2 separate regions of the Homo sapiens genome follow, and region 2 is linked to region 1. Evidence: promoter capture Hi-C in 16 types of primary human blood cells and fetal thymus (Javierre and others, 2016). All regions are on one chromosome and are shown on one strand. Each heading gives the region's core, a stretch centred on a gene start or on the middle of the fragment in contact. The rest is flanking DNA. Distances are from core to core; before and after follow the strand shown. Region 1 overlaps TOP2B (DNA topoisomerase II beta). Region 2 holds the start of NKIRAS1 (NFKB inhibitor interacting Ras like 1).

Region 1 (4,634 bases), core at 1,177-3,676:
TTCTTGAATCGTGCCTTTAAAGTTTTTGTAGTTTGGAAGCTGTAGAGAAAAAGGTAAATAGCATTGACTTCTCTCTTGAGTACCAGTACCATGAGTCTATGGTCTAACATTGACAGATTAACACAACTGAAACAGAATTTCTCATCCTCAATTGTCCCTTTCCAACTGATCAATTAAGCTTGAATTCATAGCTTCTGTTCATACAACCTGAACATCCTCCAATCTCAAAATGTTAGTATCATCTTTCCTAGTCTTCCTAGAACAGTACTTTCTTTCAGCCTACTTCCCCTACACCTACTTCTCTCCTAGATCAATATCCTTTAAATTCAAACTCCTTGGGCCTTACATTGAAAGCATTTCATAGTCTGGACCCAATCTGGCTTTCAATTTTTTCTCTAATGATTTGTCTTACAAAACCACTACTCTTCTCCCATATTTTGTTTGACTATTTTGAATATTCTCACTTTCACTCTATCCACAAGTCCTGACACATATTCAGGCCCAACCCCATTCCATTCATCATTCATCTACATAAATCTTACTCATCCTTCCCAACTGAATTACAAGTCCTCTCTCCCTCTTCTAAGTTTTTATTTGTTTTGAGACAGGGTCTCCACTTTGTCACCCAGGCTGGAGTGCCGTGGCACGATATCAGCTCACTGCAGCCTCAACCACCTGGGCTCAAAGGATCCTCCCACCTCAGCCTCCCAAGTAGCTGGGGTTACAGATGCGTGCCACCATGTCCAGCTAATTTTTGTATTTTTGTAGAGACAGGGTTTTGCCATGTTGCCCAGGCTGGTCTTCAACTCCTGAGCTAGTGATCTGCCCAGCTCAGCCTCCCAAAGTGCTGGGATTATAGACATGAGTCACTGCACCTGGCCTACTCTAAAATTCTTATTCGTTATTATCATTAAGAAATCGAGTATATAGGCCGGGCACAGTGGCTCATGCCTGTAATCCCAGCACTTTGGGAGGCCAAAGCAGGCGGATCACTTGAGGCCAGGAGTTCGAGACCAGCCTGGCCAACACAGTGAAACCCCGTCTCTACTAAAAATACAAAAATTAGACAGGCATGGTGGCGCACACCTGTGGCCCCATCTACTCAGGAGGCTGAGACAGCAGAATCACTTGAACCTGGGAGACAGAGGTTGCAGTGACCCAAGATCACACCACTGTACTCCAGCCTGGGTGACAGAGTGAGACTCTGTCTCAGAAAAAAAAAAAAAGAAAGAAAGAAATTGAGCATATAGCATAGGACATTTCTTCTGGCATACCAAGCAACTATCAATATCGTTTGTCACTGTTAAACTTCAAGCCTTGATGCTTTGATGTCTTGTCTTGACAACTGTTTAACTTTTCAAAGATAAAAACCATAGCTCTTTATCTCACCACTTAGCACAGTTTCATACACATAGTAGGCACATAAGAACCATGTATTGATCAAATACACTATCTTAACAATCTAAAATCCATTTAAAAATCCAAAACCATTTCAGTAAAACACTATCATTAAAAATTTGATGCTTATGTTAGAAATATTTTGAAGTACTTTGAAGTATTTAAGAGAAAAAGCAGAATATATGTCTTATTGCTAAAGAATAACTTTCACTTTAAAATACAAAAATGAAATAAAACTTGGAAAAATACATCAAAATATTGTCTCTATATTGTGGGTTTATGGATTTTTTTACTCTTTGCTTACCTATATTTTCTACAATAAACATTATCATTTTGGTAATAAAAATACACTTTTCTCCAGGTAATTTTAAATCATGGGGAGGAAGGAAGGACATTTTTCTTGGAGGAGGTCTGAGCAGAGTGAATGATACAAGAAAACAACAAACATAAAAAAAAAATGGGGATTTTTTTTTTTTTTTTTGGGAGACGGAGTCTCATTCTGTTCCCCAAGCTGGAGTACAGTGGCGCAATCTCGGCTCACCGCAACCTCCACCTCCTGGGTTCAAGCGATTCTCCTGCCTCTGCCTCCCAAGTAGCTGGGATTACAGGTGCCCTCCAGCACACCCGGCTAATTTTTGTATTTTTAGTAGAGACAGGGTTCTACCTGGTTTGGTCAGGCTGGCCTAGAACTCCTGACCTCAGGTGATCCACCCACCTCGGCCTCCAAAGTGCTGGGATTACAGGCGTGAGCCTGAGCAACACCTAATTTTTTTTGTATATTTAGTAGAGATGGAGTTTCCCCATGTTGGTCAGTCTGGTCTCGAACTCCTGACCTCAGGTGATCCATATGCCTTGGCCTCCCAAAGTGCTGGAATTACAGGTGTGAGCCACCACGCCCAGCCTTGGGGATATATTAAAATATATACAAGGTAGTTTGTTTTCTGTCTTTTTACAAATGGTACACTAATGAATACAATGTGTTTTTAAGCATCCTTACAAACTATTAAGCGGTAGTTTGAGAACAGAAACAAGGTTACACATAATTTTATCAGAAAAGGATTGTTTTCTAATAATATAGGGTTTAGAGGTTTGAAAACCTGGAATATGAGGTGTTTCTAAATTTAAATAAACAGTTTCTCCCCATGAAACTTACCTCCAAAACTCATTCCAAAGTTTATACTTTTTACTGTAGGCACATATCAAATTATACCCTAATTAGGTCTTTACGGTCTACAATATGTTCTAAAATAAAAATGTTCCATTACTTTTCTAAAATGACGGGAATTTGTAGTTTACACATTATCATTTGTTAAATAAATAATAAGTTCCAAATAATTACCATGGGATGAGGATCCAGGCCATCTAGCATTCGTCTGACATTGTTCACAATTTCCCTAGCATCATAGTTGGGTAGTTTACAAGCCCATCCAGTACCAATGCCCTCAGCACCATTTATTAAAACCATGGGAATTATAGGAATATACCACTCAGGCTCTACACGTTGATTATCATCATAAAGGAACTTAAGGAGGTTGTCATCCACAGCAGGAAAAAGTAGCCTTGCTAAAGTGCTAATGAAAACAAAAAGAAGCAAATGAAAAAATGTCATGGCTTTGGGAAAGAAAACTTTATACATAATTAAAAACTTCACACTGCAAAAACAAATCTTTTGAAGAGAATGCATTTTTAATAATTTTGATTACATCCGCTTAATAATAAAATTTGCCTAACTGTATTATTCAAATGCATCTTTCTCTCAGTTACAAGCCCAGAATAAAATAGTCCTATTTTACTTATGTACTTACCTACCTGATTTAATATTGATAACTTTTAAAGAATTTCCTATTACTCTAAATAAAGTACATAACCCATCTTCAGCCTAAAGAGTAAAGTTGGTGAGAAAAACATCCTTAATTCACTAGGACTGATTTCACCAACAATTCATAAAAATTAAGGTCAACAGACTTCATTCTATTTGTGGTCAAATAATTTGGAACATTCACCTTCTAAGTAGAATAACCAGATAATCACATCTCTCCACAGCTATAATTCCATCGAACATTTAGTTAGTTGGTTCCAAATCAAATCAAACTTTATACCATTATATCAGCAAATATTTACCTTAACATTGTGAAAATATAACGAGGGCTTGCAGCATCTTTGCCACCATGAAGCCGAGTTCCAAACTGACCAATAGGCTGAAGCAAGTTAATGTTGTTACTTCCCACAAAGTTCTGAGCCAAATTCACAATAGTCATCATCAATGCTTGCTATACAACAGAAGAAGGCAGAACATAACATTAATATTCTAAATTTTCTATAATTACTCCCCAACTTGAATTAAAATCCAAGTGAAGAATAAAGGCTTTAGAATCTCACTAATCTGTATATTCTCTTAATTCTTTTACATTTCCAAAGACTTTACTAAAGGAAAAATACTATGTGTAATTATCATTCTTCAAGACAATAATTACAGTTCTCAATTGATTCCAATCTTAATGCTTACTTCTCCATGATGATAAGCCGACATCTCAGCAACAGAGCCAGCCAACTGGGCAACTTTTACTTCACGTTTATCATTCCTCTTGAAACAGGTAAATAAAACTTTCCGCTGGCCAGGTTTAAAGCCTATTTTTAAAAGAGCTCTTTTAAAATGTTACTTCAAGATATAGTTGTAACAATTCAGGGGAATAAAGCAAAGATACAATTTGCTTTTCAAGAACACCAGTAAAATTGTTACTTGAGATTCTGTAACAAAGTGAGTACATACTAACACGTTTGTTTTGTTTGTTTGTTTTTTCCTAGAAAGCCATCTGCAGGTATATACTAAGATGTTTTTATGCCATCTCCATCTACTCCAAAAGTGAACTGCCAATTGAAAGACAACATTCTGGCCTTAAAGAATCACCTAGTGGTACCAAACTCCTTTAACAGTAGTTTCCAAACACTCAAACAACCAAAACGCCATTTGTAGCTAACTAAATTGCCAGCATGCCATCAAGGAGCCTGAAATCTATTCTAAGTATCCCACATCAGGAAAACCCTTATAAAAAGCGATTTATTGTGGTAGTGAAGAATAAAGGCTTTAGAATCTCACTAATCTGTATATTCTTCTCAACTTGGCCATTTACCATGTGACTAAGCAAATAACTAGTAAGTCTATGTCCTCATCCAAGTAATAGAAATAATTACTTTCTTAATATAGTTTTCATAAGGATTGCATGAAACAATGTGAG
Region 2 (5,030 bases), core at 2,405-4,904, 1.7 Mb before region 1:
CAGAACAGACCTCATTAAATATTTTACACTATCAAAAAGAAAACAAAGATGAAAAGATAAGTGTGATTAATCAAAGCAGGCTGAAATATTCTAGGTTCCTGGTTGCCTTCCAAATAGGAAACAATACCACTACATAAAGCAGATGAGTGCCTTGCTACCATCAATTACAAAGTTAAGAATTCTTTAAAAAATAATTAACATTTTGAATAAATAACACATACACAAAAATACTTTATTTTCTATAAATGATCGCTATGGCAGGAACTCACATTACAAATAAGTGGTTCTCATGCTTAGATATTTTCAGATTTACAAATAAAAACTACTAAAAGTTTGGTTCTTAAAGCACTTATAATTATTTAATAATTCCCAAACACAATAAATGTACACCAGTTCCTGCGAAATATACAAAGGTGGTCATCTGCAGTACCCTGAATGGGCACTGAATCACATGAACCGATCCTGGGGTAACCAAGCCTCTTACTTAAATCTAGGTTTCAAGAATTTGAAAGGCTCTGTAGTACATGGGTCACCTTTAGGTTCCTTTCAACACTGTGATGCCATGATATTAGAAGTTGCTTATCCAGAGAATACATCAACACTGAGGTGAACACAAAAAGCAGTAGTTACAGCTACTTGTCACATCCCTACCCTAAGAAACTGGGCAATAAAATTCAATCTGTGACCTATTAAACCTCACCTGATGTAAATTACTAAGAGAACGTGCTTAATAGGCAAGATTCAGGGCAGTCTTAAATACTTATTGCTTTACTTTCCAGGCTAATCAATAACATTGCTAGAGAATAAATACAACCTCCTCTCTCCAACTTGAGGCTAAAAAAAAAAAAAAACAGAGAGTAAATATATGACCTGGTCCATTCCTGTGAAATGCTTTGTCAACATTTTCTTTGAAGAGCCATCAGAAACAGCTCCCCAAAACCGTTATTGCTTCTGTTCTTCTATGTAAGTGGGCCATTCTATTTTTATAAGTAAAACACAACTTTCTGACGCAACCAGAAAAACAATACCAAAACACTGTTAACATCATAGGAGAGATGTTATAAATCTCTAAAAATACTGTCATGTGGGGAAACCACCTACACTGTGTATTTACTTATGTCAACATTATGTATAGTGTGGAATACTTTCACTTATCCATATATGAATATATTTACATACATAAAAATATATTCAACAGGTTTTGCACACAGTATTGCACAAAATAAAATGTAATAAAGCAGATTCTAGCTTACCATTCTTTTATTCATTTACCAAACATTTACTGAGGGCCTGCCATCATGCCAGCCATCAGGGACAAACTAGGGGGCAAAAACAGAAATCATCCCTTGTCCTCAGGAATCTCAAAATCAACTGGAAACACAAATCCAAATCTTGTAAAACTGTTAACTGAGAAACTACAAATTGAGAAACAAAACTGCAAATGTGATTGATAAATTAGCAGTGATTATTCACACTACTAGAATTGTTTTTCCAAATGATTCATCCAACTTTTTAAATTTTATTTTTACTGCTCCTTTAGGAGCAGGACTACGCCCATAGGCAGCGTACCTACAGTAGCACATTCAACTTTTTAGTCATCCTCACCTTTGAAATACATACAGGGCTGCACTACTTACCATTTTCATCACTACTGAAGTGGTCTGGGTGAGGCACCATGTTCTCTCACCTGGTCTCTCAAAGATATCGTAATCCCCCAAACCTGTGAATATGTTTACTTTACATACTCATACAAGAATTTTGCGGGGGTGATTAAATTAAGAACTTCCATACGAAGATATTATCCTGAATTATCTAGGTGGGCCCAGTGTAATCACAAGTGTCTTTATAAGAGACACACAGGAGTGCTGGAGAGGACAGAAGGTGTAATTGGAAGATGCTCCTTTGCTGGCTGTGAAGATGAAGGAAGCAGTCAGGAGCCAAGGAATTCAGGCAGGCTTCATAAGGTGGAAAAGCCAAGGAAATAAATGTACTCTCCCCTAGTACCTCCAGAAGGAACACAGCCCTACTGACTTTGGTTTTAGCTTGGTGATATTTACAGATTTACAGACCTAGTCTGATGTACAAACTAAAAGACGGTAAATTTGTATTATTAACCAACAAAGTTGCTGAAATTTGTTACAGGAGCAATGGAAGACTAACACAATTTCCTAAGCAGTCTCTCTGCTTCCATTTTTTCTCTCCTTTTAGCCTCAAAAGGAGCAATCCGAGTTATCTTTTTAAAATGTACGCCATATGAAGTCATCCTTCTGTTCAAAATCTGCCAATGAAATCCAAAGTCCATGTGAGAACCTTCACCTCTCCGACGTCATTTCCCACTTTCCCCTACTGTGAATTTCAGCCACACTGCTTCCCTGCTGTTCCTCTATTAATCTTGCATGCTCCAGTCATGGCTCTTCTCCCTCTGCCTGAATCAGACCCCTACTCTTACTCCCAGACTCCTATCCTTGAAGTCCTTTCTTAAATGTTACCTTCTCTCAAAGACTTAACCTGGACACTCCATTCCAAATTGCAACCCTCAGCCGCTAACACTCCCTCATCACTTCCCTCCCCTTATCTTTTTTCCTTAGCATTTACCACCAAACCCAAAACACAGCTTACTTCTGCTTACTGCCCATTTCCAAGAAGGCCAAAAATTCTGCGTTGTTTCCTGCTGCATCCCCAGCAACTATGCCTGGCACATATTAGACACTTAATAAATATTTGTTGAATCAATCAATGAACCAGATAGAGACTCTTAAAAACGTAAAGCTGTGATTTAAAAAGAAAGAAAGAAAAATATGATGTGGGAAAAAAGATAATCAAAACCGCTACGATTAAGAGATAATGATTCTCTTAAGCCTTTGCCACATCTGAACGCATAATCTGGAAGGAAATTAAAGCCACATGACTTAAATTAAAGCCAAGTGAAAATATTCTGGAGAAACAAAGTAAGCCAGTAACCTATTTCTCAATTTAAAAAAAAACCCGCAACGCAAAATGCCAGCATTTTCTCGGCATTTCTTCTCTAAAACATTCACACCTGCCAAACAGGTCTTGGCAAATAAACATTCTGCTCTTCTGAAAAACTGTGGTTCTCATGTTAGCAAATTTGGGACGAAATCCGTATGCAGAAAAAGCGCCGGGCCGCCCGCAATCCACCCACTCCATGACCCTTTTTTAGGACAAAATCCCTGGGCGCTGGGGCCTGCTGGAGGAGCTTCACGCAGTCTGGAGCTGAAGGGACACAGCGAGCGCCCCGACCCGCGACGCCCCGACTCCGCGAAGGCCTCCCTGGGAGGCTGGGGAAGCGTCGGGGGATCTCTCAGCGCAGCTCTGGGGCCCAGATTTCTGCGCCCGTCGTGCGGTGGCCAGAGAGGGACAGCGCAGCGCGGAGACGCGGAGACGCAGAGACTCCGCAGGGGGAGAGCCCGCGGTGCGTGAAACAAACCTGTTCTCTCCTCAGACCTCAAAGACAGCGGCTCCACCGCGGTACGCGGCCACCGGCTTTGGAGCCTGGACCCCAACTTGCCTCCTCTCGCGGAGAGACAGTCGCCGACGCTCGCTTAGCCGCCGAGACCTCGCCGCCAACTCTCTCACCTCTCGAGACGCCCAGGCCGCTCAGGCTCGAATCTTGCGGAGCAGGGGGCGGGACAATAGCGGCCGCGGCGCCCCACTCGGCAGAACTCCGCCACCAGGCGCGATGCCGGAACTACATGTCCCATGACGCTCTGGGAGGCCGCAGCTTTCCACCGGAAAGAGGGTGGCTGAGGTGGGGGAGGAGCCCAAAAGGCATTGTGGGAGTACAGCTCTTTCCTTTCCGTCTGGCGGCAGCCATCAGGTAGGCTGCGTTGAGGATCTTTGCTCTTCCATCCGCCTTTGATCGTCTTCCTCTTCAGCCATCCAGGTCCGGGGACCCTGCGTCCTCGGAGATAGGTCTCCCTCCTGTGCGGCCAGAGTTTGGTCAGGATGCGGGACAGCAAAGGGGTGGAGAGGCGGCCCCCGGGGCGGGTTGAGCGAAGATGTGATGGCGGCGCGAATTCGAGCTGGGCCCGGATCCTGGAGGAGGCGTGGGGCTGACGAATGGGGCGCCCGGGACAAGGCAGCCTAAAGTGAGGCTGCTGGTTGGGTGGGGTAGATGCATTTTCCTCGAGAGTTAATCCTCGGTGGCCGCAGCAGTACCTTGTCCTGTGATGTCAGCGGCATCTCCTTTCAGGTCCTCCTTGGGGACGCCGCCTGCCGCAGCCACCCGCCCCCTTGGTGCTCAGTTCTGGTTCTGTTAATTCGCCCCACCAAAACGTGCCGAGCACCGCTCTGTGCTGGGGTTGCGGAAGTGACTGAACGCGGCTCCGTGGGCGCAGTGGTGGGGGTTGGGCTAGCTGTCCCCGGCAGTTGGTGCAGAGCCATTTTCATTCCCGGCGGTTTCCTTGTTTTTGTTGGGGAACTAAGATGGACGGATACAGTCGTCTTATTGTACTTAAAGCGGATGATATTTAATACACAGTTTGATTTCACAGGTAAGCCAAGATGGGTGCATACAAGTACATCCAGGAGCTATGGAGAAAGAAGCAGTCTGATGTCATGCGCTTTCTTCTGAGGGTCCGCTGCTGGCAGTACCGCCAGCTCTCTGCTCTCCACAGGGCTCCCCGCCCCACCCGGCCTGATAAAGCGCGCCGACTGGGCTACAAGGCCAAGCAAGGTACGTGATCGACTGCGTGGATGCTTGGATAAAATTATATTCGAGAAAAGTTGGAAACCAGCTGTTAGGAAGACACTGCTGCCTCAGTGTCTTTCTTCGCATAGGGCTTTGGCAGAAAAAAGCTAGCAACACTGGTCAGTTACTGTATGCACTGTTGTCTAAAGTGGCAAGTGTGTCAAAGGTTACAAATCTGAATGAGTTCAGACTAAAGCAAAATAAACAGTGTGCCTCCCTGTGTGAGTAGCCTAAGGTGCATTGAAAAAGACTGGGATGTGTTTTATTTTTTTCTATTAGATAGCATTAACTTACTGTTGAAGTATTTTTGGTGGAGTAT

The links. Contacts are between HindIII fragments. The CHiCAGO score rates a contact against its expected background, and 5 or more counts as called.
Region 2: a contact is called between the fragment with the promoter of NKIRAS1 here and a fragment that was not itself captured in region 1, in 1 of 17 cell types (neutrophils). The highest score is 5.8, in neutrophils.

The regions. Positions count from the first base shown.
Region 1 is chr3:25,620,778-25,625,411 of GRCh38, forward strand. TOP2B (DNA topoisomerase II beta) reads right to left here. Exons shown (of 36, transcript NM_001330700.2): 19 at 3,905-4,026; 20 at 3,520-3,668; 21 at 2,738-2,969; 22 at 1-39. Among named protein-coding and RNA genes, the nearest start is that of TOP2B, 42 kb to the right of the region's middle. The HindIII fragment of the contact is 4,500 bases long and covers 177-4,634 here.
Region 2 is chr3:23,913,336-23,918,365 of GRCh38, forward strand. It overlaps NKIRAS1 (NFKB inhibitor interacting Ras like 1), which reads right to left and starts at 3,655. Exons shown (of 5, transcript NM_020345.4): 1 at 3,449-3,655. RPL15 (ribosomal protein L15) reads left to right here and starts at 3,797. Exons shown (of 4, transcript NM_002948.5): 1 at 3,797-3,838; 2 at 4,515-4,696. The coding sequence starts at 4,525. RefSeq lists enhancers at 3,259-4,058, 3,310-4,509, 4,439-4,538. The HindIII fragment of the contact is 19,179 bases long and covers 1-5,030 here.